Regions from separate parts of the Homo sapiens genome. Here regions 1, 2, 4, 5, 6 and 7 are each linked to region 3. Evidence: promoter capture Hi-C in 16 types of primary human blood cells and fetal thymus (Javierre and others, 2016). All regions are on one chromosome and are shown on one strand. The core of a region is centred on a gene start or on the middle of the fragment in contact, and the rest is flanking DNA. Distances in the headings are between cores, read along the strand shown. Region 1 has its middle 45 kb from the start of MAP1B. Region 2 overlaps MAP1B (microtubule associated protein 1B). Region 3 holds the start of CARTPT (CART prepropeptide). Region 4 has its middle 68 kb from the start of MAP1B. Region 5 has its middle 25 kb from the start of MAP1B. Region 6 overlaps MAP1B (microtubule associated protein 1B). Region 7 overlaps LOC105379028 (a long non-coding RNA gene).

Region 1 (3,765 bases), core at 1,202-3,701, 340 kb before region 3:
CTTTTATTTCTTAGGCATGTCTGTGTTTACCTAGATAATTCAGGCAAAAAAAAAAAAAAAAAAAAAAAAAAAAAAAAAAAAAACAACTCCCACCAGCTTGACTCAGTGTGATTACCTACCTCAGCAGACTCTTGCTCTTATTTTTCATTTGTAAAAATTAACCAGCCAGGCGTGGTGGCTCATGCCTGTAATCCTGGCACTTTGGGAAGCCAAGGTGGGAGGATCACTTGAGTCCAGGAATTCAAGACCAGCCTGGGCAACATAGAGAGATCCCTGTCTCTACAAAAAGTGAAAATAAAAAATTAACCAGGCATGGTAACATGTAACTGTGGTCCCAGCTATTCAGGAGGCTATGGCAGAAGGATTGCTTGAACCCAGGAGTTTGAGGCTGCAGTAAGCCATCATCAAGCCACTGCACTCCAGCCTGGGCAACAGAGCAAGACCCTGTCTCAAAAAAGTAAAAAATTAACCAGATTATGGTGTGAGTTCTTACATCACTAAGCCTCTGCATGACTGGTTACTGGGTGCTTTACCCATGTGTTCTTTCCCCTATTCTACGATCTTGTTAATTGTATTCTACCAAACGGCAGACCTACAGCCTCAATAAGCAGCCACACAAGGACAAGTATAACATGTTAGTGCATACCCAGCTCCGTCAAGTTCTAGTACTTCAGAAAGTATGACAAACCAAGTAGACGCATGGTAACATTAATAAAAAGTAGAGGTCATTGATAGAAGCCTGGGAAGTTGGGGTGACATCAACCAGAGAGTCCATTACAACTAAGGATGTCTAGTCCAGATTGGAGGCTTCCAGGTATAAATCAGGGAAATTCATGCACAAACCAGGACATGTTTCTGAGGAAGCTTATTCACTGGTGTGGTGAATAGGGTCACACGATGAGGGAGAACTCAAGTAGTAGAAACTTCTGGTGGAAATGTTAAGAATAATCCCACAGGACTAGCCTCCTCTCACTTTTATCTCATCCCAGGATGAGATATACTAGGTCCTGGACCTCTGCTGCTTAGGACAAGTGGACTTGCTCTGTTTTCTCAGTTGCAAAATTAAGCAATTGGACTAGATACTCCCTGAAACCCTTTCCAGCTGTAATATCCTGAATTCTAAGACATCCTTACTTTATTTGTTCCCAAGCCTCCCCAACTCAACCCACCTCTACCTCATGTGACTGCACATATCAGGTGGCCTCACCTCCAAGTAGGAAGAGTCAGGGAGTTAGGAGAACATTATCCCTTAACCATTGGTGTTTCAGCACCACGGAGAGCGACACGAACGCGAAACTACTCCCCCATCCACTTTGCCCCCAAACCCTTAGATATGCCTATGCCCAAGTCATAAATATATCTCTAAAATAACCATTAACATATTTATTACAGAAATGAAGCCATTTCAATTTCTATATCTAACCCTATTTGCTCCCTTAGTCCTAACTCGATCATCAGTCATCAAGTTATAACAAGCATTTTCTTGTGTAGCCAAGCCCCAGGCCATTGAAGAATATTAGAGGTCAGTGGGTATAAACTCCTCCCAACATAGGAAACTCTCCTATACTATCTCTAGTGAGGGATATCAAGTGTCTGCCTGGTTACTTCCAGGTACAAGAAGCTTGGTACTTCATTGGAGATGACAAAAACTCTATTAGAAACTCATTTCTTTTATTGAGCTGAAAGCTGCTTACTAATAACAATTCTATTGTATTCAGATCTAGAATATGACCACTTCTTATCCCCTCCACCACTAGTCTTCTGGTCCTAGCCTCCATAAAGTTGACATGAAGGATTAAAAGGAGTAATCCTTTCAAGGTCTATGTCATACTCATGTCACTTTACTGCTCTATACTCTCCAGTGTCTCCCCGTTTCTCTCAGAGTAAAAACCAAACTCCTTATTATCATCTAAAAGGTCTTTCATGATTTGCCCCTCGTTTCTTCATCTATCTCTAACCTCATCCCCTACCATTCTTTCCTTCACTCACTCTGCCCCAGCCACACTAGCCTTCTTTGCCGTCCCTTGAACACCAAGGACACTCCTGCACTGGGTACCTTACATTTGCTGTTTCCTGTAACAAGAATGCTCTTCCCCAAGATACCTGCATGGTTCATTTTATCACCTCTTTTTAGTCTTCCCAAACGCTGCCCTAACAGTGAGATCTTCCTTGGCCATTCTGTGTAAGGCCCCACACACTCTATATCTCTGTTCACTCATAAGCAGTGATTGGTAAAAGCTGGTAAATATTTAACAGCCCATTTGGAGGAGGGATACTAATTTGTAGCATTTGCTGATTTCTGTGATGCAAATAGAAATTGCACCACCATAGCCAATTGCAGGCTACCAACGTGAGGTCACTGAAGGCAGAATTGGGAAAGGCTAACATTTTGTTCTGATGAACCCAAATAAACCAGATTAGCACACTGCTGCAGGTCGTAGAGGAAAGGAGCATGCACTCCTGGGGGTGAGTGCAGTGGTGGTCATGGGGTTGAATCGAGAGAATCCCAAAGGGAGGAAACACTGATGGGGAAAGAATTTTCCTATAGTAGGAGCATCTAGCTTTACTTCTGTCTTTCCAGTTGCTTTTGGAACAACTAAACCTTGGTGTTCTGTCTGCTCCTTGAATACCACGTGTTAAAAGCCAAACCCTTGCTTACCCTATCAAGCCAACATTTGCTAATTTTTCTTCTTCTGTCCATGGCACCACGACCTCTCATTCTTCCTTGCCATATATATATATATACACACTCCCAGTAGTCCAGACCCTCCAGGCTGATAGGACCATGGTATTTTGGAATAACTTATCTCCATAGCCAATGAGGACATGTGGATGCTTATAGATTGTATAGCGGGGTAAGCTGAGTGTATCAGGAACTGTCTATTGCTCTTTTCTCTGGTCGTCTGCATTTCACATTCTTGACTATAAGGGCTTTGGAATCACTGAGCCCATGTCATCTCTGGCTGTGCAGTGGACTGGTTCTGTATTTCCAGGACCATCTGACAGCACCTCCAAAGTCCCAGGACAACTGTCCTCACCCGTCACTCTTCAGCACATTGGTTTCTTGATCTTCTAGGATTATACATTCTCACTACCCCCAAAAATACACTTATGCACATTCCTATAACATTTTGCATCTAACTTAAGGATTACGCAGACTGCCCATGAAGCCAACTCACTGAATTCCTCAGTAGTCATGGCCCCCAAGTTAATCTCTAATGTCTTCTACTAGTTCTAATGCAGTACGATTACTTTATTCTTTTATGCTCCCCCAAGCTTAGTCAGCCAAGCAAGAGAGAAAGAGAAAGAGAGACAGAGAGAGAGAGTTAAATTATTCTTACTTAATTGGTCCTCTCCAGCTAAATATTGGGTCTTAATTATCAAATTAGTAAAGCATCTCTATGTTATTCATAATATGCTTACAAAAAAATGGATATGTTTTTGTAAACTATGTTTCACTGAAGGGTTTGACTAATGAGTTAATACAAAAACACTGAAAGCAAATTATATGATTACAACTCTTTTCTATCATTTAGAATGTTTATTTGCAATAATCTAATGCAAATAAAAATAGCTTCAAATAAGATGCTCAGTTTCATTTTTAAAAAGAGAAATGAGCTGTTGCAGTTGGTTTTAGACACTTATTTTGATTTTATTTTTTACATTGTGGTCTTTATGATGTAAATATATTACAAACTTCAGTCATTTTACCAAGAGATTATTTTTATTATTCTTGACTAACTCCTTTATACCCTTCAACATTGT
Region 2 (3,679 bases), core at 444-2,943, 410 kb before region 3:
TAACCTAGAAGATAGCCATGGTCTCTTTTTTCACACTTTCTTTTTTCTCTGTAGCAGTTTTGAGTGTTTTTTTTTTTTTTTAAAACAATATCTGCAATCAATGACTCTTTTTCAGAAGGACTATAACATCCAGGGATATTCCTTGTTCTATATTGAAGCACAATCATATTAGTATTGAGGACACCACCTCAAAATAAATAGTTTGCTCACTAATGATTCAGTGATAAGAAATCGCTACTAATCCGCACACCCTCATGTTTACAGTATAATTACCAATAGGTTCATCATGAGGACCCTGAGGCACAGAGAGATGATCTTCCTCCTGAGTCTTCCAAGGAAGATTCAATTCTACTGTTCTGAGTTTGGGTTCCAAGTAGGTAGCACGGTGTGCACTCATCTTGCCTGAATGCATGTCTCTTGAACTATATTTCAATAAAATGCCAGTATCTACCTAAGGGGAACAATATGTCCTTTTTTAAAAAAAGACTGTCTTTGAAGATATTATTCTATTTGGGTGGGAGAAGAAACAACAGATTTGTAAGTTCATGTCTTCTATAAATAATTTAAGTATATCTTGGGCTAATGTATAAATTTGGTTTAGGAAATTCTAAGTTAATTCTAGATAAATTTTAGGTGTTTGTGTAAAAGAAATGACTGTATTATTGGATTCTACAACTTTGAAAAATAATAATCCCACGAGGGATTATTGGCAACTCTCAATTAGCTAGAATATTTGATTAACCAAAACGTATTATCCATGGATATATTATCATTAATGTTGTTATTGTACATAAATTATTTCTTTCTGTTATTTTAGAATACTTGGTAAGCTTTGTTGTAAACACATAATATCACACCTAGGTTTTTTTTTAACTTTTTTAAAATTATACTTTAAGTTCTGGGATACATGTGCAAAATGTGGAGGTTTGTTACATAGGTATACACGTGCCATGGTGGTTTGCTGTACCCATCAGACGCCTAGGTTTTAATGAGTGAATTAACACTTTTTTGCAAATATGATCAAATTAGGGATGGAACAAATTGAAGTTTTTACCTTAAAGGTATTAAAAATCAACAGCCATTCAAAGATATATTACCACAAAAATCACTTTTCCTTCTGGATAATCATGACTTTCTGATAATGATTACCTGCATGTAAATTGTACACTGTCAGTAATAATCTGATTCGAAAATTGCTTCCTTCCCAAGGGTGTTCATATCTGCATGTACTAACTTGCTAAATTATGGTGTGCTAATTGGTAGTTCACATGACAAGATATGCACAGTTGACCATGCTTATTAAAATTCAGGCCATCCGCAGTTAGCGATAACAAACAATGTGCCTGGGACTTTTAACACCTTCAACCTGCAGATAATCCCTAGAACTCTTGAGGTTCAATCTTCAGCCTCCTTCCAAAGATCAGTGAATAAGCAGCTAACCTGAAGCTCAATGCAACACCAGATACCAACATGGAAATTCTCATTTTAATGGGAAACATATGTAGCTATTTCCTATTTGGCACTGTGAAGATAAAACACCCATGAGCTGACTTTGGGGATAGTCTCTATGCAAGTGTTTGACATTGTGCAAACATGATTAAATTTTGTCTTGTTTGGTTTGTCTGCAAGGTAAAGACAGGTGGGAAAAGCCAGGGCCAAGAATTCCCAAACTGGGAAATCAGCCTGAGTGTCATAAAGCTGTGCATCTTTCCTAAAATTAAGAATACTCATGGATGGGACAGGCAGTTTTTTCTAAATGAAATTCTTTCATTGATATTTTAAAGCCTGGATTAAAAGCCATTGTAAGCTGAATGAAGTAAGACAAGCTCCCATCTACATACGAGTGATGAGACAATTTAGTAAAAATTCATAGAATAATGGAATAAAAAAACTGGAAGGGACTCAGCAATCATTTAATCCATCCTTTCCCAGATTGTGTTTTACAGGAATCTAGATCCATGGGAGAGAGTGGTGATAGAAGTGACTAGTCAAATAGGCTAAGGAAATGTATGGTTAGACAAAATTGAACAAGTTTATACACATACAATTTATGCCTCCTCAAAAAATTAGATGGAGTATGTCACAGTTTTCAAACTTAAGTCACCATGAAATTCTTTTCCACTGACTATTAATGTTTTGCAGAACTAATGGCTGGCAGAACAAAGTTAAGATGACCTGATCTAGCCTAATCCCTTTATTTTACAGAAAAGGAAAGGACTGACAGCAGCTCTTCAGGGAGCACCATGGGCAACAATGCTCTCAGGTGTGGCCCAGAGCTGCTGCACTAGGTCAGGCTTCCTGGTCTCTCCGGAGGGGGAAGGGTCCTGGAAAGCAGCTTGCAATTGGTGTCCCCTCCCTGCTTCCCTCAACACAGGGACAGCTGAATCAGACACTCTCCAAAGTACCCATTCTAGCCTCAGGGCAGTGAAACAATTACTTCACATTTATTTCCTTAAAACATTTCACTTTCACAATCTCTTCCCTAGTGTCTTCAGAGTCTGCCAATGGACAATTTTCCAGCACTCAAAGATAAAGACAATCTTGAAATTAAGCTTATACATCCAGGTCAGGAGTTTTGTTCTCACATGATTTCAGAAGGGTGAATTCTTAAATTATCGATTCTAACTCTTCATCATTGAATTAATGGGCTTAATCTAAAATGTAGCTCCAAACTAGGAAATATTTTAATTCAGGCTGGATTCAAAATTCCCTGGTCACAAAGATGATTCAGTGCATTAGGATCTGTTGCATTTATGCCCCAATTTGCATGGATAATATTATTTTAATGCTTTTTTTATGCACACAGATTTTTTTAAAATAGCCTGAACAAATAGAATTTACAGAAGGACCTCCTTGCAAAATTCTCATTTGGCACTTATTATAGACTGGCTTGTTTCATTAGTTATCTTATTTCCATACTCAATTGTAAACAACTGAAGACAGGATTTACTTACAAGTCTTCTTATGGCCTGCAGAGCTAGGAACTGAACTGTGCCTTGCTGCAGGAACATAAATATTTAATGACAGATTGGCTGATAATAGGACACTAACAGGACACCTTCAAAAGGAGATACCATATAAAATGAAAGGATTGTCTCCTTTATAATAGATGAGAACAGATAAGGTTTTCTCTCTCTCTCTTTCTCTCATGTATGCAAACACACACACACAAACACATATGCACATTATACTAAACTAACTACAAGGCACTTGAGCATCTTGTGGGGCTGCTGGAACTTCACACCAAATACCACTTTCAATTGAATTGCACCACCAAAAACTCCTAGTATTTGAGCTGGGAAACTATCTGGAATTCTAGATAAAAAAGCGGTTGCTACATCATCCCTAAACAGGCATCGAGCTCCATTAAAAAGAGGAAGAATTCTCTTAGGCAGTTTTCACATCTTTCACACATCAAAACTTCCAAGTGAGAGGTTTTTAAAAGGCACAAGAGACAACTGCTCAAAATGGCTCTGCACTAAGGAAGCATTGTTCGCCTGGGTTCCAGAACTTATTTGATCTTTAATTTTATTGCAATAAGGATAACTTCTCCAAATGTGACATTCCCATTGATGGATACACTTCAGGATCCAAAAAGCCACATCTATGTAGAGCAGTGTTCCTGGGGCCAGGTGCACTAAAAACGTGTTGCTCCCTCAGGGGAATAGCTGTTCCTTCC
Region 3 (3,817 bases), core at 810-3,309:
TCTCCATCTCATTCATCTCTCTCTTTCTCTCTCTCTCTCTCACACACACACACACACACACATACACACACACATACACACACCACATCGCTGCAATCAAAGAAAAATAGAGTATACTAAAACTGGCTTGGCAAACTTCTAATTAACGATCAAAACTCCTTGGAGCTAAGGTGCCATTTTCCCAATAGGCTGCTATTTTTAAAATATTTTTCTTTGAAAACAACAGCATGATTAATCTCACCATTTCCACTTAAATTACTTATATGAAAACAGCAGTGCACTATGGGCAATTATTAAAAACACTTTATTATGTATAATTTGTACATGCTTCAATTTGTGTCACTTAGGGTGATTTATTTTCCAGGTTGTAATGACATCTACCGAGATTAGCTAGATCTAATTTTCATTCTGCCATGCCACATACAAAAATACAATTTTCAAACAAAGCTTCCCTTCTTTACACAAAGGTACACAAGAGTTTGTCAGACAAATAAAATAAGAATACTTCACACACGTATCAACACCATACAAGGCATTATTCTTCACACAGTAACATCTAATGTGTTCTTTTATTTTTGAAACAGCAGGAAAAGAGCCCTTTCCCTTCAGAGGAAAATAAAAACTTTATCTGTTGCTTAAGCCAAACTCCAGGGAGGAAGGTGTGGTCCTCTGGGGAAAGTAGAGGGATGGGGATGTATGGAGGAGAATGGACGCCCCTTCATAAGCACTTCAGGAGGAAGGAATTGCAGGAGGTTCCTCGGGGACAGTCACACAGCTTCCCGATCCTTGCCCCTTTCCTCACTGCACACTGCTCACCGGCGTCACACTGAAACAACAAAATGTGTGGTCATCGAGTATGAACAAACCCAGGTTCCCAACAGGCAAGTCTCACAGTCAACGCAATTTCTGTCTCTTGAAAGGGGCAATTGGACCCCATCACCATCACAAGAGGTCTACGTACAGTCAGATCTGAAACAGGGAGCCTTGTGCTTATAACCTCAGTGAGAGTACATTTTTTAAAGAAACTTACATTATTAGTTTTATCCTAGTTTCTTCCACCTTTAAGTGGCGAGGGTTGGGGGGCGTGGGAAGGGGAGCATCACATTTCCTGGCTCCTTTTCTTGCCCTCTCAGAGGGGAAAAAAATCAGACCTTTTTCCTGAGCAACAAACAATAGACTTACACTTTCTTACAACCCCTGTTCCTGCTTTCCCATTTCCTCACCCGGGAAGGAAGAAGGAGCCCACAGAATCCTGCAAGCCCATTACCTAAGTTATTTAGCCACATCCTACGGAGAAGACTGTGTGTACGATTCAAGGCGGTGTACTTTCTCTTGGAAAAACACGGGAAGGGAGTGACCACAAACCTTACCATGGGGACTTGGCCATACTTCTTCTCATAGATGGGAACACGTTTACTCTTGAGCTTCTTCAAGACTTCTTGCAGCGCTTCGATCTGCAACACACCGCTTCGGAGCCTGAAGTTGCCGCCTTGGCTGCGAGCCCAGCCCAGGTGCGCACTTCCAGCCCTAGTTATAAGGAGCCCCGGACCCACACGCACTCTGCGGTGGGACTCCGCGGACACAGGGAATGGTCGAGGGGTGGAAACTTAGCGGACGCTGTCCCAGGTACTGACCGCGGGTCTCTGAGCCGCTGGGGTCCCTGTTGCTCAGAGGGGCCGGGATGAGGGATTCGCTCAACAGACTGCCAGGAGCCCGTGAGCTCGAGACGCTCTTCGGATGGCAGTGGGTGCCTGGGCGTTGCGCTCAGCTCCCCGCGCCCTGACTCTGGGAATAGGAGTGGGGGTGGGGGGAGGAGGGAGGCGTGCAAGAGAAGAGACAAGGCGACAGCTCAAGGGGGTCGAGAGCGAGGGGAATACCGACCAGCTCCTTCTCGTGGGAGGCATCATCCACGGCAGAGTAGATGTCCAGGGCTCGGGGCTGGAGCTCGGCGTCCTCCTGGGCACGGGTACCCAACAGAGGTAGCATCAGCAGCAGGGCGGCGCCCAGGAGGGGCAGCAGCCTCACGCGGGAGCTCTCCATCGTTCTGAAACTCGTCGTTGCTGGGGCACCACGCGCTCCCACCTTTTATAGTGAGCCCGAGCCCCCGTGCAGGAAAGAGGGAGGAGGCGAAGAAGGAAGGGGGTGTGGAGGAGGGCCCGGGTCAACCGTCTGTAGGCAGCGCTCCGCCGGCGCTTGACGTCAATGCCCGCCGGGTTCCAGGCGCCTGGGAACGAGGCTCTGCGCACAGATGGGCTAGAGCGCAGAGAACAGGACCCTGCGCCCCCAAAGGCTGTCAGTCTCACGGCAAGGGATGCTCCCCGAGGGGCCTGAGCTGAAGCCGAGGGGCTAGAGGTGAGGGACGGGAAGCGGGAGGGGCCTAGGAAATGGAAAATGCCTTCGGGTCAATGCACAGGCAGGAGAGTCGTTTCCCAACACCTAGCAGTGGTGACAGCTGCAACATCCACCTCGCCAGCCCTGCCTTGCCTCGCACCCCAACCCCAAGTGTGGCGGTGAGAAGGGGGTGTTGCCTCCAGACAGCCACATTTGCTGAGCACCTTACTCTGTGGGGTAGGGGAAGCAAACATACTATACAAAAGAAAGAGAAATAGTGGCCCTCCACGTGATGGGTTCTATGATGGAATCTGTGTGACAATAGTTAAAAGAAGAGAGGGAAAACAGACAAACCCGGATTCAGCAGTGGTGTTGGAAGTGCAGAGAGCCAGGCTCTGGTTCCCATCCTGGCTACACCACGTAAAAGTTGTATGACTTTGAACAAAATGAAGAACCTCTCCAAGCCTCAGCTTTCTCTTTTGTAGATCTAGGATTAAAAAGATATACCTCACAAAGTCATCAGTAGGATGAAATGAGAGATTAAGTATGTCAAACTCCTGGTTCTTAGCTAAGCTTCCCTGTCCCTCCTTTTTGAACTTTGAGGCTGCCCAGGCAAATTTAACCATCCCCAGAACCTCCCCCCACCCACCACCAACCCTTGGTATCCAAGAAGCCTGTCTAGAAAGAGAGTAAAAGAGTGAAAAGAAAGACAGCTCCATGATTATGAAAATATCTCCAGAGATCAGAAGTCAATGGTGAACCAGCTCCCCAACAACTTGGGAGAACAATGTGGCTTTTTTAAAAGTTGAGATCCTTACAGCCTGAATGCACAGGAAAATTCCTGTAGGAAAAGCAATGCTTTCCCGCTTAGACCTGCTTGCTCACCTGGCTTCCTTCACCACACCATCTTTCCCTCAACTGTTCCTAAATTCATCCACTCTTCTCCATCCCCATTACTACAACCCAGTCCTAGACAGCTGCCCCAGTCAACTTAATGTCTACCACTTAATCCCCACCCTATCTTCTCTTGCCTTCCTCTACTCCATAGTTCACCACCAACCAGAGTATTTTTCCCCTTAAAATACACTAATGACTCCTAATCTTACTAAGCACTGAATCTAGATTCCTCATCCTGACTTGCAAAGCATTATATGATCTTCACCCCTCTCCACCTCATGTTCTACCACTCTGCCCCAGACTCCTCCACTCCAACCTCACATGGCCTTCTTTCTGGTCCTCTAGCAGGCCAATCTCATTCATACTTTGATGTCTTTGCACTTACCCCTCCTTGAAAGGTCTTCCTGTATTTCCAAAAGGCTCACTACTTCTGTTATTTAAATCTCAGTGTAAATATCTATGACTACTCAATCCAAACCATCTATCAATACTTTTCTCCCACAAATTTATTGCATAGCAGATTATGTGGGTCATTAAGATAGTTTAATACACAATATATGCCTGGTTACTTCAACTATCAAGTATTTAA
Region 4 (3,285 bases), core at 492-2,991, 320 kb before region 3:
TTTTAAAGCTTTCAGGCTATAGTCAATGAATGGCTAAAATCCAGAATACTGTAAACTCATCTTTTTTCCCATTCCACTGACCAAAGGGGTGTTTGAAGATTACCATCTGATTAACTGTCCCCACACTAAGAATGGGCTTTAGTGACAGGCAGAGTCTGTGGGACAGCATCATGCCTCTGACAGCCACTTTTAGGGAAGGATGTTAAAGAACCCCTGCTTTGTGTCTTTCTTAGTCATCATATGCCACATTTCCAGGCAAAGGAGATGAGTATCCTCTCTTCTAGGGATCTGTGAGGGGACCCCAGGGCCTCCCTTTGTCCTTCAGTGCTTGCTTCTCTGGGTCTCTTCAGACTCATTCCTGGGCTGGCTCAGGCCAGAGCTTGAACCCTGCTGAGAAAAGGCATTTTCAGTGAGCTTGTTTAGAATAGGCCAATCACTCTGTTTATTTTGCCTGAAGGGACTTGGGGAAGGGAACAGGGACATCCTAATACTTTTTAAAGATAAGTACTTGGTTTTTTGTTTTCCCAGGAGATCTGGCTAAAGAAAGCAGATTCATCTTAAAGCAGGAGCAATTTAGATAAGGAATGAGAAAGAACTTTTGGATGTGATCTACTGGTCTACCTCCCCATGAAGTGGAGTTTTCCTAGGAAGAGCAGACAGCTCAGAGCTATCTGCAGGTGAAAAGATAAACTATATTACCATTCAAGTTTGCTGTTGGCTCTGTAATTTCTTTCTGGATATGGTTTCTATTTTTGCAGCAGCAGAAAGATTTGATTTCAAAGACGGATAGGAAAACTACACTTGGGTGAACCTCTGGGGCACACATTATTAATTTGAGGTCCCTGGACTCTTCTGGTGTGCATCAGAGGTCTATGAACCTCCAGAAATTGTATGTGAAATTGTTGGGGAAGAACATTCACAGCTGCCACCAACCTCACAAGGAGCCTGTGATTAAAAAACAAACACAAAAAGAAACAGGAAAGAATTATTGTTCCAAGGGAAAAGTTCATTTAGTTAGGATGAGTACCTAACTCTAATCCTATTTCTTCCCAAGGCTTTGCAATGTGGTGGGAAGATGAGGAAGATGACTGAGAAGGGTGGTACAGAGTCCTCGTCACTGCTGGGGGGCTGAGCTACTGGGAGGCAAATGCAAGATGCCTCCAACCTCATTCATTCAGTCATTTGTTCAACAAATATTTATTGAGCACCTACCATATGCCAGGCACTAATCTAGGGTTTGCAGATACAGCAAGTAACAAAACAGATAAAGATTCCTGCTTTTATGAAACATTTATGGGGGAGCAGGTAATAAATAATAAACACAGCACAAGTGTATTACACAGTAGTATAGTATAGAGTGGAGGAGCTGGATGGAATGAGAGCAGTTTGCACTACCATGTAGGGTAAATCTCAAAGAGAAAGTATTATTGGTTGGGTGTGGTGGCTCATGCCTGTAATCCCAGCACGTTGGGAGGCCGAGGAGGGCAGGTGGATCACCTGAGGTCAGGAGTTCAAGACCAGTCTGACCAACATGGAGAAACCCCGTCTCTACTAAAAATACAAAATTAGCCGGGTGTGGTGGTGCATGCCTGTAGTCCCAGCCACTTGGGCGGCTGAGGCAGGAGAATCACTTGAACCCGGGAGGTGGAGGTTGAGGTGAGTCGAGATTGCGCCATTCCACTCCAGCCTGGGCAACAAGAGTGAAACTCCATCTCAAAAACAAACAAACAACAACAACAACAAAAACAAAGAGAGAAAGTGTTATTTGATCAAAAACTCAAAGGAGGTAAGGCATTAGCCTTGAAGATATCTTGTATGGGGGAAGAGCATCCCCACAGAAGGAACAGGCAGCTTCCTCCTAAGACTGGCAGGCTCTGGAATATTTGATGAATGGCAAAGAGGCCCGTGGGGCTGAAGCAGAGTAAACAAAAGGGAGAGTAAGTAGAAGAAGAGGTGACTCTGGGAGGGGGAGGCAGGCCAGGTAGGGCCTGAGAGTCTGTTGTAAGAACTTTGGCTTTACTCTGAGTGAAATGGACATCCATTTTAGGGTTTTGAAGAGAGAAGGTACATGATCTGACTTACACTTCAATAGGATTGATTTGGCTGCTGCCTTAAGGATAGACTGCAGGGGGAAGGGTAGAAAGAGGAAGATCAGTAAGAAGTGATGCAGGTGAGAGACAATAATGGCTTGGAGCACGGTGGCAGCAGTGGACATGGTGAGAAGTGGCAGGATTCTGGATGTATTCTGAAGGGAGAGCCAACATGGGATTTTCTTATGGGATGGGTGTGGGGCATGCATCAACACTCATCAGCTTCTCTTCTTCCATGTCTCCCCATCACTGGGTGCAGAATAGGCGCTGTCTCAGCCCTCTCTCTCTCCCGGTCTGGATCTGTGCTGTCCAGTACAGTAGCTACCACCACATGTGGCTGTATGGAGTACTTGAACGTGGCTAGTCTGAACTGAGATGTTTTTTAAGTATAAAATACACACCACATTTGTACCCCCAAAAGGAATGTAAAATGTTTTATTGTTAATTTTAAAAATATTGATTACATGTTGACATGATATTTTGTATATATTAGATTAGATAAAATATATTATTAAAGTATGTTTTATATCTTTCTTTTTACTTTTTGATATGGCTAATAGGAAATCTAAAATTACACACATAACTCACATTATATTTTATATTTCAATTGGACAACACTGGTCTAGAAGATATTTGAGAGACCTATGGTCACATTTGAATTAAGGGTTCCCCTGGGCTTATTCTTTCAAGACTGGAGAGGCAGACATGAAACTCCTACCCAAGAATGATAAAGAGCCATAAACTTCCAAAATATGTGATCTTCAGAGCCTCGTATGCTGCTTCCTTTGAAAGAAATGAGCCATTTGCTCATGGGCAGAGACTCTGAGGTTGGCCCATTTAAGCCTCAACAACCAATGGCTGGACATGGCTTGTAAGAGGCCACTGTTCCAGGCGGCCAGAGATTGATTTTCCTCCATCATCAGCAAAAACACACTTTTAAGACCCTCAGTAGCATTCCTCAGGTGCAACATTATGACCTCCAACTTGAAATATCAGTTTATATTGACCCAGTGGCTTCATGTGAATGTCAACCAGAAGGGCTGGGTAGTATCTGAGCATCTCTGTTGAAAATGTATGCATGCTGGAGCTGTGCATGTCTAAATTCCTTCCCCCACTTACTTTGCTGCTTAGAGAGGCCTTGCACATACACTCTTCAGTCAATGGCAAATGTCTATTTTATAGAGAAAGCAATAAT
Region 5 (3,567 bases), core at 698-3,197, 360 kb before region 3:
AGGAAAAATTTGTAAGATGCAAGAGAAGAAGATTAAATCCAAGCTAATAATACGTGTGACATTTTTATAGAAATAGTCTGTGTACATAGCAAAGGAGTTCATCAGTTTTATTTACCTCATTATTCACTGTGTTGAGTTTACAAAAATCTAGAAAGTTGATAACAGTAATTAAGCAGGGAAACATGGCAATACCAGAGCATCTAGGTGAGCTGCAAGGCATTGGGCCAAGTATTTTTAACCACCCGACAGAGATGTTTGTCAGAAGAGACGAAGAAAGGAAGGAAGGGAGGGAGGGAGGGAGGATAATTTGATTTGCTTCCTGCCGTGTAGTCCCTCTTTTCACCCACTTTATCTCCAACCTACTGCTATAAAGACTGGATTTGTTTTGATTCTATAATAATATCCTGGATGACCATTTCCTTGGGCTCAGTGATCAGCCAGATTTCAGGATTGAGATGGGGCATTTAGGGAGGGTGTTGAAAGCATGGAGGCATTTGGAAACAAGTAGCTCTATGTGACTAGATGTAGGGGGCATGCCAGGGAGAGTAAAGCATAGCACTGCTTACATGACAGATTCAGACAACTGGCTGGATTCTGTGGACAATGGGTAGCCACTAAAGGTTTTAGAGTAAGAGAGCTAATGGGAGCCCTATCTTACGAATGATAGGAAGCTATGACAGCTACAACCAGGCTATGGAAGAAGAGGAAAAGGAGAAGCAGAGAGGCCAAATAATATTCCATTTGAGAAGTCAAGAGGAATGGATATGAGACCCTAACTTACAGAGTATGGAGAGGACAGTGAGAACATATCAGTAGCTCCCTGGGGCCAAAGTCCAAATTCTTTGACATGACTTACAAGGTTCCCCATGGTCTGTCCCCTCCCGGTCTCAATATCAATATCTCACCATCTTTCACCAATCACAAGTTCCTTTAAGCTCCTTGAACATGCCATGTTCTCTCTCACCTTCAGACCTTTGCATATGCTTCTCTTTTTGCCTAATATAATGATGAAGGCAATGATGATGCCGATAGCTGACACGTCTAGAGTGCTTGCCATGAGTCTGTTACTGTTCTAAGTGTTGGCATGTATTAACAATTTTCCAGAAGATCCTCCATTTTTTGGAGCAGTGCTGTATCTTCTCTCATTTTCTATGGGAGGCTAGTCTTATTGTAATGGGGTACTGAACTGAAATTACAAGCATGGGGTTTTTAGCCCATGCTAACGTTTTTGAGGCATACACCTTCTTGCAATATACTTCTATTAGAAAGTAAAAAGATGGCTACTCTGCATTTTGGTATGTATGTTTCTGTGTCTATTTTTAGAAAAATTAAAACAACTAAAAATGACCAGGAAATGATTTCACCATATTGTGACCTAAAGGCAATGTTATTACCTATTTTGTTCATCCCCGACTATATCCACAGCATATAAAACAGTTCTTGGCACATAGTAAAGACGTGATATATATTTGTGAAATTAATGAGTGAATGACTAAATTGATGAAATTTCTGTAGGGATATGTTGTAGTCCCCAAGTCAGCTCCTTAACCCTTGGCTCTACCTCTTTTCTTCACTCATAGTCACACCCACCAAGACCACAGCCACCCACTCACAGTGTAGTCTTTTCTCCTGTGGTCTTCTTCGAGGGTCACAGTGACCACAGCAGAACAAGAGTAATGAACTCAGGGAAATGTTCCTGTTAACTGTCTCCTCATCATGCCTGGTTGCTAGCCCTCTAGTGCCCAGGGTGTGGTGGGACAGGTGGAATACTCTAAAGGAAGTTAGGCATCTCAGAGGACCAGGCTCTGAGAGTGGAGGTGTGGGAGGGTGAGAAAGAGCAGTGCTTGACATGACTTGTCTCCAGATCTTGTTGGTGAAGGTAATTCTAAGATTCTAATTCTAAGACTCTCTAATGAAGATTAGAACTCAGGGGATGCAGCCTCTGTAGAGGGTATTGTCCATGTATATCTAGCCCTGGGTTTTGTGGACAAAGACCTGAAGGCCAGCTGCCCTCCTTATAACCTGAGATTTAGGGTTCATCCTCCTCACCAGGTGATGGTTAGAGCCATGAGCCAGCATGGCCAAAGGCACTTGGGTGAAAGCATAACCATGTGGGTGAGGTGGCTGGTGGGACTAATGGGCCTTAGAGACAGAACCAAGGCATATGGGAAAAAGAAGCTCTTTGCTTGTTTTACCCATGTCTTATAAAAACATGCCTGGCACTGGGACTTCAATGAGAGGAAGCTGAGGCACCTGGCCTCAGTTCTCATCCATAAAGGAAATCACAGCACACAGGCAAAGTGACCTCTCGGCTGGCATCTCCTAGTGGCCTGTGCACAATTCGGTTACTTCACAGGCTTCTAAGAGTGAGCCCCAGAAAAAGCACTGTGCTCTGTGATCTAACTGAGAACTTGAACCAGCTGTTCTTCTTGAGCCATTTATTTCAAGTCCAGCTCTCCAAACTGGATTTCAGAAGGATGTGCTGTTCCACCTGCCTCCACTTCCCCCTACAGCACATGTTCCAAGAACCTTTGTTCTAGCAATATGGCTGATGGGGCAAGGTTCTGAGATCTATCAAAAATAGATGTTATTATGTCAGTGATATAAATAATGTAGCTCCAAAATGGGGAAATTGATTTGAAGACTATAATTAAATGTAGCTCAAATGTTGTTGAAGGCTAATCAATATAGCTTCAGTTTGACTCTTTAAAGCTCTGAATTAGAAGGCAATGAATCCTTCTCTACTGCATTAGAAATGCACACCATAAGGTGAAGGGAAGGTTCCCAGGTTAAGCGCAATGGCAGCATGGAACAGATGTCAAATGTGTTCTGGGGTTTAATGTGTTAACTATAGTGCTTTAAATGCAAACGTTAGGATAACCCTCATTTGAGCACACGTGGATATGTTTCTAAGTTATTATCAAATACTATATTAAAGTTTTCACATTCATTTTTTAAAATGCTGTAAAGGTGAATGAATCCTTCTTAGCAGCCACCTAGTGCCTTAGGGCCTGCTGTGGAGGATTCTGGGTCCATGTTTTCAGCAGTCGTCAGCTGACACCATCTTTGTTGAAAAGGGACTGTCAGGGACACTCTCCTATAGGTACAATTTAAACTTTCTTTTTTTTTAACTTCTATTTTAAGTTCAGGCTTACATGTGCAGGTTTGCTATATAGGTAAACGTGTGTCATGGGGGTTTGTTGTACAGATTACTTCATCACCCAGGTATTAAGCCTCGTACCCATTAGTTATTTTTCCTGATCATCTCCCTCCTCCCACCTTCTACCCTCTGATAGGCCCCAGTATGTGTTGTTCCCCTCTATGTGTCCATGTGATAACTTTCATTTTTAAATATCTCCAAGTAGACAGATTCCCAACTGTTCTCAGTGACTAGTCCAGATTTGAATAGCTAAACCATAGAAAATAATTGCCCAACCATAGGGGACAGTATAGAGAACTAATAGTACATTCGCATGGCAGAATACTACGTGGCCATAGAGAAGAGAAGGTTCTTTATGGACAGATATCAAAAGACCTGTAAAATATACTGTAAAATGAAAAAAAGCA
Region 6 (3,521 bases), core at 904-3,403, 490 kb before region 3:
TTTTTACATATTTTTCCCATTAAATCCCATAGCAAAAAAAAAAAAAAAAAAAAAGAGAGAGAGAGAGAGAAAGTGAGGAGGGTGGAGTGGTTATAACTGAAGACTGGCTATAATTCTCCTACAATGTTTATAGTTTTTAAAGCAAAATAATGTTCAGGTTAAATACATTTAATTGTGAAATTGGAAAATAACTTGCATCTTCTGTCAAAGAAAAATCAACCAGAGGTCTGGATTTGGCAAGAAGGCTAAAAATCTGGTTTTCTTCCCACGCATTATGTAGACCAATTCAACTTAAGAGCTAACCATTAAATAATTATCTTGAGTATCTTAGGTTGTGTTATAAAATAAATTTGAAGTAGATGAGTTTATACTCAATGAAATTCATTGGCGTCACAATGACTTTTCCATCATGTGTTAATTTCTTGTACCCTTAATATGTTATTTTCCAAGGACTTGAAAGAAATGGGGTAATAAATAAAAGCTGCATTTCTAGAGAAGCCTAACAAAAATAGAATATTAATTTTCTTTAAAAAATTAAACATTTGAAAAATGTAATTCACAGCATTAAGTAGACTGCATAGGTCCTCAGTGAAAGGACCCTGAAGAAGCATTTTTTTAAACCCTCATCATAGTTAGCAGTGCAAAACATAGACTTATCAGACAAAAATCAACTAAAATGTTAATTTTGAAATAAATAACTAACATAGAAAATAAAATGAGGTCATTGTTCTCTACTCCGTAGATCTTAGAGTCTGCAGGAAATGTAATGTGACAGAGCACAGCACAGTTGTCACGGAGAAGTTTGCCTCATCTGAACACTGGGTGCATTGATCTGCAACTTGAAACTTGATGTCAGTGTTAATCATGATCTGGCTTCCCAGGTTCACAGTTCAATGATGACAATGATGGAAATTTTCTCTAAACTCTACATGAACCGTAGGAGTTGAGAATTCATTTGTTTTCAATGTACTATTTCTTTTATTTTTTTTTTCCAGAAAAGAAAATCCCAAAGCAAATTTGTGCTAGGGTTCTTTGAACTTGGCTCTTTTACCTCATGGTTGAAGATCTTGAAAGAAGTATGTAGGATACCACTGGGTGATGTACTTGTCAAGGCCCTGAAAAGTAGCCTACCATGCCATTCTCCCCCACTCTCAAGTAGCACTTTTATGTTATGGGAATCAAGGGGTGGGAGGTATCATTATTCCTGGTAGTTATGGGTTTTTAATAAATATCATTACTGCAATATCAGACTTCAATCTTGCCAGAACTTCAAAAAACATTATTCAATTTTTGTCTTACGAAACACTTAAAAAAAAAGACTATCACTTGAGAATTTTCTTTGCAATTTCCTGTAAATGAAAACATTTGTTAAAAAGTTCATCTATGAAAAGTTCTCACATATCTTAAAAAAAAAATTCTTCTGTACACTTGTTCCCATAATTATGTTGAAATTAATGGAAAATTTAAAAAGCCAATGTAAGACAAAGGAAGGTAAATACTGTACACTTGCTGAGAACCTCTTCCACCATAAGATTCACTGTTTTCCCAGTTCTGATCATAGAAGCCATTTCAGTCTTGAACTTGCAGTAGTAAAGAAGCTGTGAAAGGCACAACTTGTTTGACTGAGAGGCCACAGGTGCACTGAAGTGGGATTCAACACGCATGACTCAGCATCAAACTGTTGGACCAATCAGATCAGCTTCTAGTACCCCCACACACGCTCACCCACGTGTTCCTTTAAGTATCTATAATCCTATATGGATGTTTTATAAACTTGCTGTCTCACATTAAAAAATAAGTGCATCAAGTATCTTTGTACATTCAAGTCACTTCCTAAGGCAAATTGTCTACCATATGTACTCCCAACTGCTTTGGTATTTGCTTCAGTTAATTGGGGTGGACTTGGGTGTTGCTGCATGCAGGTTAATCGACTCAGAGTGGACTAAGTGGGTGGACAAATGCTGGGAGCATGCCTTAGATCAATCTACTTGTGTGTTTAGAGTCTGAGAGTTCTGAATGGGGCCCAAACCACTTGCATGGCCAGTCTACACTCACTACATTATGTCAGTGTGCAGCCTTCAAACTGAAGGAGCTTAATTAAGATGTGAAAATATCACATGCCCTCATAACAAGTGTTGTTCTTTTTACTTTCTTCTAGCCAACTTGTTTTAGAAAATTAAGACTCTTTTTGATGACTCAGACTGACAAAAATGGAAAACTTTGCCTATGTAGACTAAAGAATGCCTACTGCCTGAGAAAATGCAGACCTAATTGTTGGTTTATTTTCTCCTCCTTACCCCACCCTGCTCTCTCTTTTTCTCTCTGGGTATCTCACCAGAACTCTCTGTCATTACATCTCCTTCTCTTGCATTCCTTTTCTTTCTCATTCTTTCTCTCTCTCTCTCCTGCGTTATCTTTGTGCTCTCACTCTCTCTCACTCTCTCCCGCGCTCTCTCTCTCTCTAAGACAAATGCCTCTACCTAGCAGAAGTCAGTTGGGTTGGCTAGTGCATGGTTTCCAAATGTTCAGCAGAGATGAACTGGGGTAGGTAATTTTGCAGGAATTTGAACCCTATTGTGGAAATACTGTTATTTCCCTTAGCAATCAGCAAAAACTGAGAAATTTAGTGACTTGCATCACCATGACACAGTATAGCATTTGGCAGGTAATTGTTCAGCGACTTAACTAGATGAATTGACTTTTTAGAAAAGGTGATTTCAAATTGAAGAATTTCTGGAAACAAAGTTCAGATCCTGTGGTGTGGCTGGCCTTGGTTTTTACAGTTCAATCTTGCATGCAGGGAAGGATTCATCTTGCATAACCACTGTGCTGCTGCTTGCTAAAACCATGATGTTGAGATCTTGCTGTTTCTCATGGGTCTCCTGGTACCATTCCCTCATCACTTCTGAGTCATGAGTTGGGATCAGTGTCACCTGCAGGGAGAGAAAAAAAAAATAGCTATTTAAGGGCAGAAACAGAAACCATATGAAAAAAATTGAATAGCAAGGTATTAGACCACTGGAAGAAGAAGGGAAATGAGAGAAAACTTTTCTATTTTCCTCAAGAAATGCAAAGGATTTTTCAATGTATATTTTCCAGGAACCAGAATAAAGCTGCAAAGAAAAGCTATTGTTTCTAAGGGAAACTGAAGGCTGGAACCAAAAAGCAATTAATCAGTTTCTCAGTTCTTTACTGTTAAGAGAAGTGCTTCCGTTAGGGTACAATTTTTTGTATTTCCTTTAACACAACTGGTAAGTTTTGCATAAAAGATATTGCATATTTAATCCAAGGATTTTATCGCGCACTTCAAAGCCCTCAAAAGCCCACTCATTGTGAGTAACTAACATTTTGTCCTGAGAACAAAGATCTGCACCTTTACTTTATGTGTGTGGTTGGGGATGGAGGTATGGGGTGGGTAAGTAATGTCCTGAATAGTATAAATTCCATCTAGCATTCAGTAGGGAGCCACTGGGTGCCTCTCATTAGATTTCATATGATTAAATAACAAGTAATTCTATATA
Region 7 (3,678 bases), core at 106-2,605, 380 kb before region 3:
AGCCATGGTAGTGTGCTAGGTGCTTAAAGTACTTCAGTGAATTCCCACTGGTATTATTTATATTTTTGATGGCTTAAAGTCTGTATTGATGTCTCTTTCTCATTTCTGATCTCGATAATTTGTATTTTCTTTGTTTTTTTCTTGATCAGTCCAGCTAGGGGTTTATCAATTTTGTTAATCTTTACAAAAACCTACATTTGACATTATTGATAGTTTTCTATTTTATGTATGTGTATATATATTTTCATTGAAGCTGTTTTTATCCATGCTGTTTTGCTCCTAATTTCTTTGGGTTTTATCTTACTTCCTATTGTAGCTGCTTGAGAAGCTTAAGTAATTAATTGTCAGTTTTCCTTCTTTTCTGATAAATACATTTAAGGCTAAATATTTCTAACTCCTGCTTTAGCTGCCCTGTACACATTTTGATGTGTTGTGTCTTTATTGTCATTATCATTCATTTCATAACATTTTCTAATGTCATTGTGATTTCTTTTTTGCCATTAGTTATTATTATTGCTGTTTGACAGATGAAAAACTGACATGGAGAAAAGTTAGACAATTCCTCCAAATCACAAAGATAGTAAGTTGAAAACTTGTGAAAAGAACTCTGCTATGTCATATTTCAAAGTCTATGACCTCCCCTATATGGTACCTTCACTGATGCTATTGAATTTAAAGCAAATAAAGGAAATGAAGCACAGCCCAAGTGTTGATTGGTGGGAAGAATAAAACAGTCAGAGTAAATCTCACATTGAATGAACCTCCAGTGTTGTGTTGTTAGTTAGAATTAAAGTCATTCTCTAGAGTGTAACTTAAGACAGTATGTCATTTAAGGGTCAAGAAATAGTCTGTTTACTCAGCATTTATCAGTCCTTTCTTTCCAAACTTTAAGCTAGCTATAGAAAAATTCCAGAGAGCCTGGGGAAAGAAACAAAAGGAAAATTAGGGAAAAGACTTACAAGGTATGAAGTATTAGAGAACATTTTAAAAGGATAATCTATACGCTATGTCATTGATGGCTGCAGCCATTCTCTATGCCCATAAACTAAATGGGCCTAACTCTTAACAGTGGCTATTAGGTTAGTTAGAAGAGGCATGTTTCTGAAAATTCCATAGTGAACTTCATAGCCAGAGGAAAATATCTTATACTTCTTTCTATTCAATCATCCTTGACTCCGAAAGTGCCTCTTATTTTCTTTTGGTGGAACAGTGGAAAAAAAATATCACACTGGAAGGCCAATTGACTGAAATCAAGTCCCTTTTCCTAACTGTGTGAACTGGGTCCTTCACATCACTATCCTTCAACAACAAGAAAAACAAAAAACATCCTATAAATGTATAAAGAAGAAAATGAAAGTTCTTTCTTTGCTACCCCTAGTTCTCTTCCCCTTCCTAGAGGCTAAACTATTTTGTGTGCATGTGTGTGTGTGTGTAGAATGTACACATATATGTAGGGGATTGGTTCTAGGACTCTGTCCCCTGTGAATACCAAAATTCAGGGACGCCTAAGTTCCTTATATAAAATGATGCTTATAACCTACGCACATCCTCCTGTATACTTTAAATAATCTTGATTACTTATAATATCTAAAACAGTGTAAATGCTATGTAAATAGTTGTTATACTGTATTGTTTAGGAAATAATGACAAGAAAAAAGTCTGCACATGGTCAGAACAGATTCAACCATTCTTTTTTTATATATTTTTTTCTGAATAATTACAATCCATGGTTTGTTGAATCCACAGATGCAGAACTGGTGGATATGGAGGGCTGACTGTATACATGTATCTTCCCCATATAAATAGAACAATATTTTATATACTGTTCTTCAAATGGCATTTTCCCTTTGAAGCTCTTTTCAAATATGTAAAAATCTATTTTTAAAAACTGCTGCACAGTAGCTCATAGAATGAATCTACCATATTTCCTTTACTCTTTCCCCTCTTGGTGGTCCTTTAGGTGGTGTTTGGTTTTTTTCTATTATAAATAGTGTGCAATGACCATGCTTGTAAGTGCTTCTATACTCATATATGTTTCTCTGAGCACAGATGCCTAGATCTAGAAGCCAAACAGATGGGTTGAAGGTGATACCTAATTTTAACATTTGATGACTCCTGCCAAATTACCCTCTGAAAAGAATTTAACAATTTATATTCCTTCCACATCATTGCCTCTTTCCCCACATCATAATGTAAGTCTTCTTATTTTTTACTCACCAAAGGGAGAGAAATATTTACTGTTTAAAACTGAGCACCTTTTAAACTGCTTTTCTTTCTTTATTGGCTTAACTCTTCAAGATGTGTCTTTTTTCTGATTGGACTATTGTTTTTATCTTTACTGGCTTTTAGAAGCTCTTTATATAATCTGGATAATAAGCTTTCGTCATCAATATATGTTGCAGATATTTCCTCTCAGTGTGTCATCAGATTTTGTATTTATGTCTATTTATTATGTCTGTGACCATACAAATTATTAAATTTCTTATAAGGTTAGGCTAAGCTTCTTTCTTTATGAGTTAATGGGGGTTGTCTGTCTTAGAAAGGATCTCTCATTCCAAACCTTAAAACTATTCTCCTAATAATTTTAGATTTGTTCAACTGAGAGAGTGCTTAACTCAGGAGATCAATAAAGGTTCATAGAGGAAGAAGTATTTGAAATTGTCCTGGAAGAACAATATTTTTCAACAGGCAGAGATGGAGAAAGGACAATCTACATGAACAGAACAGCATGAGCAAAAAGAACTGGTAGAAATATATTGAGCTTATTCTTGAAAATAGCTAGCAGTTTACTCCTCCTTTCTTTTGTATACTAACAGCAGCACACTGAACAAACTGTTCTGTCATCTTGTTTTTATCACTTACCATATCTTTGAAATATTTCCATAACCATCATAAGGAGTATCCCTATTGCTTTTTGAGCAATGCATAGAATTCCATTTTGTGTGAATATCATAATTTATCACTCTTCTATTTTTATCACTCCTCTGTTGATGATGACTTCCAGTCTTTTGATAATATAAACAGTGCTGTAGTAAATAAAGTTCTGTATATGTCTTTTCCCACAGGTTAGAGACTATCCATAGGATAAATTTCTAGCAAATTGCTGAGTCCAGGATATGCATGTTTGCAATTTTGGAAGATCTTAAAAACTTGCCTCCTATAGGTGTTGTACCAGTATATACTTCTGCCAGTAATAGATGGGTGGGCTGCTGATGCCTCAAAATGTAAGTATTTTCAAACTTTTAAATTTTAGCCCATTTAACATAATTTAAAAATTATGTCTCTGTGTGATTTTAGTTCCATTTCCCTTATTATATATAAGACTGAACATCTTGGCATATGTTTAAGGGCCATCTGCATTTCCTTTTCTGTGCACTGTCAGCTTATATGCTTTGCCCATTTTTTCTAGTAGATGGTTAGTGTTTTTCTTATTGATTTGTATATATTCTGTATTACTCCTTTATCACATTGCCACAAAGAAATGCCTGAGATGGTGTCATTTATAGAGAAAAGAGGTTTAATTGGCTCACAGTTCCACAGGCTATACAGGAAGCATGGCTGAGGAGGCCTCAGGAAACTTAACAATCATGGCAGAAGGTGAAGGGGAAGCAGGCACATCTACACATGGCCAGAGCAGGAGGAAGAGAGAGAAGGAAGAGGTGCTACACCCTTTTAAGC

What was found. Contacts are between HindIII fragments. The CHiCAGO score rates a contact against its expected background, and 5 or more counts as called.
Region 1: a contact is called between a fragment that was not itself captured here and the fragment with the promoter of CARTPT in region 3, in 3 of 17 cell types (M0 macrophages, endothelial precursors and M1 macrophages). The highest score is 7.3, in M0 macrophages.
Region 2: a contact is called between a fragment that was not itself captured here and the fragment with the promoter of CARTPT in region 3, in 3 of 17 cell types (M2 macrophages, M0 macrophages and megakaryocytes). The highest score is 7.3, in M2 macrophages.
Region 4: a contact is called between a fragment that was not itself captured here and the fragment with the promoter of CARTPT in region 3, in 1 of 17 cell types (M1 macrophages). The highest score is 5.1, in M1 macrophages.
Region 5: a fragment that was not itself captured here is called in contact with the fragment with the promoter of CARTPT in region 3 in 2 of 17 cell types (M1 macrophages and M2 macrophages); the score reaches 5.9 in M1 macrophages.
Region 6: a contact is called between a fragment that was not itself captured here and the fragment with the promoter of CARTPT in region 3, in 2 of 17 cell types (M2 macrophages and M1 macrophages). The highest score is 6.5, in M2 macrophages.
Region 7: a contact is called between a fragment that was not itself captured here and the fragment with the promoter of CARTPT in region 3, in 2 of 17 cell types (M1 macrophages and M2 macrophages). The highest score is 6.1, in M1 macrophages.

The regions. Positions count from the first base shown.
Region 1 is chr5:72,060,922-72,064,686 of GRCh38, reverse strand. No RefSeq gene overlaps it. Among named protein-coding and RNA genes, the nearest start is that of MAP1B, 45 kb to the left of the region's middle. The HindIII fragment of the contact is 1,655 bases long and covers 1,624-3,278 here.
Region 2 is chr5:72,124,811-72,128,489 of GRCh38, reverse strand. The region is part of intron 2 of MAP1B (microtubule associated protein 1B); the gene reads right to left. Among named protein-coding and RNA genes, the nearest start is that of MAP1B, 19 kb to the right of the region's middle. The HindIII fragment of the contact is 1,722 bases long and covers 833-2,554 here.
Region 3 is chr5:71,717,517-71,721,333 of GRCh38, reverse strand. CARTPT (CART prepropeptide) reads right to left here and starts at 2,059. Exons shown (of 3, transcript NM_004291.4): 1 at 1,882-2,059; 2 at 1,371-1,454; 3 at 289-826. The coding sequence starts at 2,040. The coding sequence ends at 719. RefSeq lists an enhancer at 1,035-1,921. The HindIII fragment of the contact is 2,457 bases long and covers 450-2,906 here.
Region 4 is chr5:72,037,796-72,041,080 of GRCh38, reverse strand. No RefSeq gene overlaps it. Among named protein-coding and RNA genes, the nearest start is that of MAP1B, 68 kb to the left of the region's middle. The HindIII fragment of the contact is 3,462 bases long and covers 11-3,285 here.
Region 5 is chr5:72,080,424-72,083,990 of GRCh38, reverse strand. No RefSeq gene overlaps it. Among named protein-coding and RNA genes, the nearest start is that of MAP1B, 25 kb to the left of the region's middle. The HindIII fragment of the contact is 4,416 bases long and covers 1-3,567 here.
Region 6 is chr5:72,204,496-72,208,016 of GRCh38, reverse strand. MAP1B (microtubule associated protein 1B) reads right to left here. Exons shown (of 7, transcript NM_005909.5): 7 at 1-2,933. The coding sequence ends at 2,778. Among named protein-coding and RNA genes, the nearest start is that of MIR4803, 37 kb to the right of the region's middle. The HindIII fragment of the contact is 6,181 bases long and covers 1-3,521 here.
Region 7 is chr5:72,097,825-72,101,502 of GRCh38, reverse strand. LOC105379028 (a long non-coding RNA gene) reads left to right here. Exons shown (of 3, transcript XR_007058813.1): 3 at 1-3,678. Among named protein-coding and RNA genes, the nearest start is that of MAP1B, 7.8 kb to the left of the region's middle. The HindIII fragment of the contact is 2,049 bases long and covers 331-2,379 here.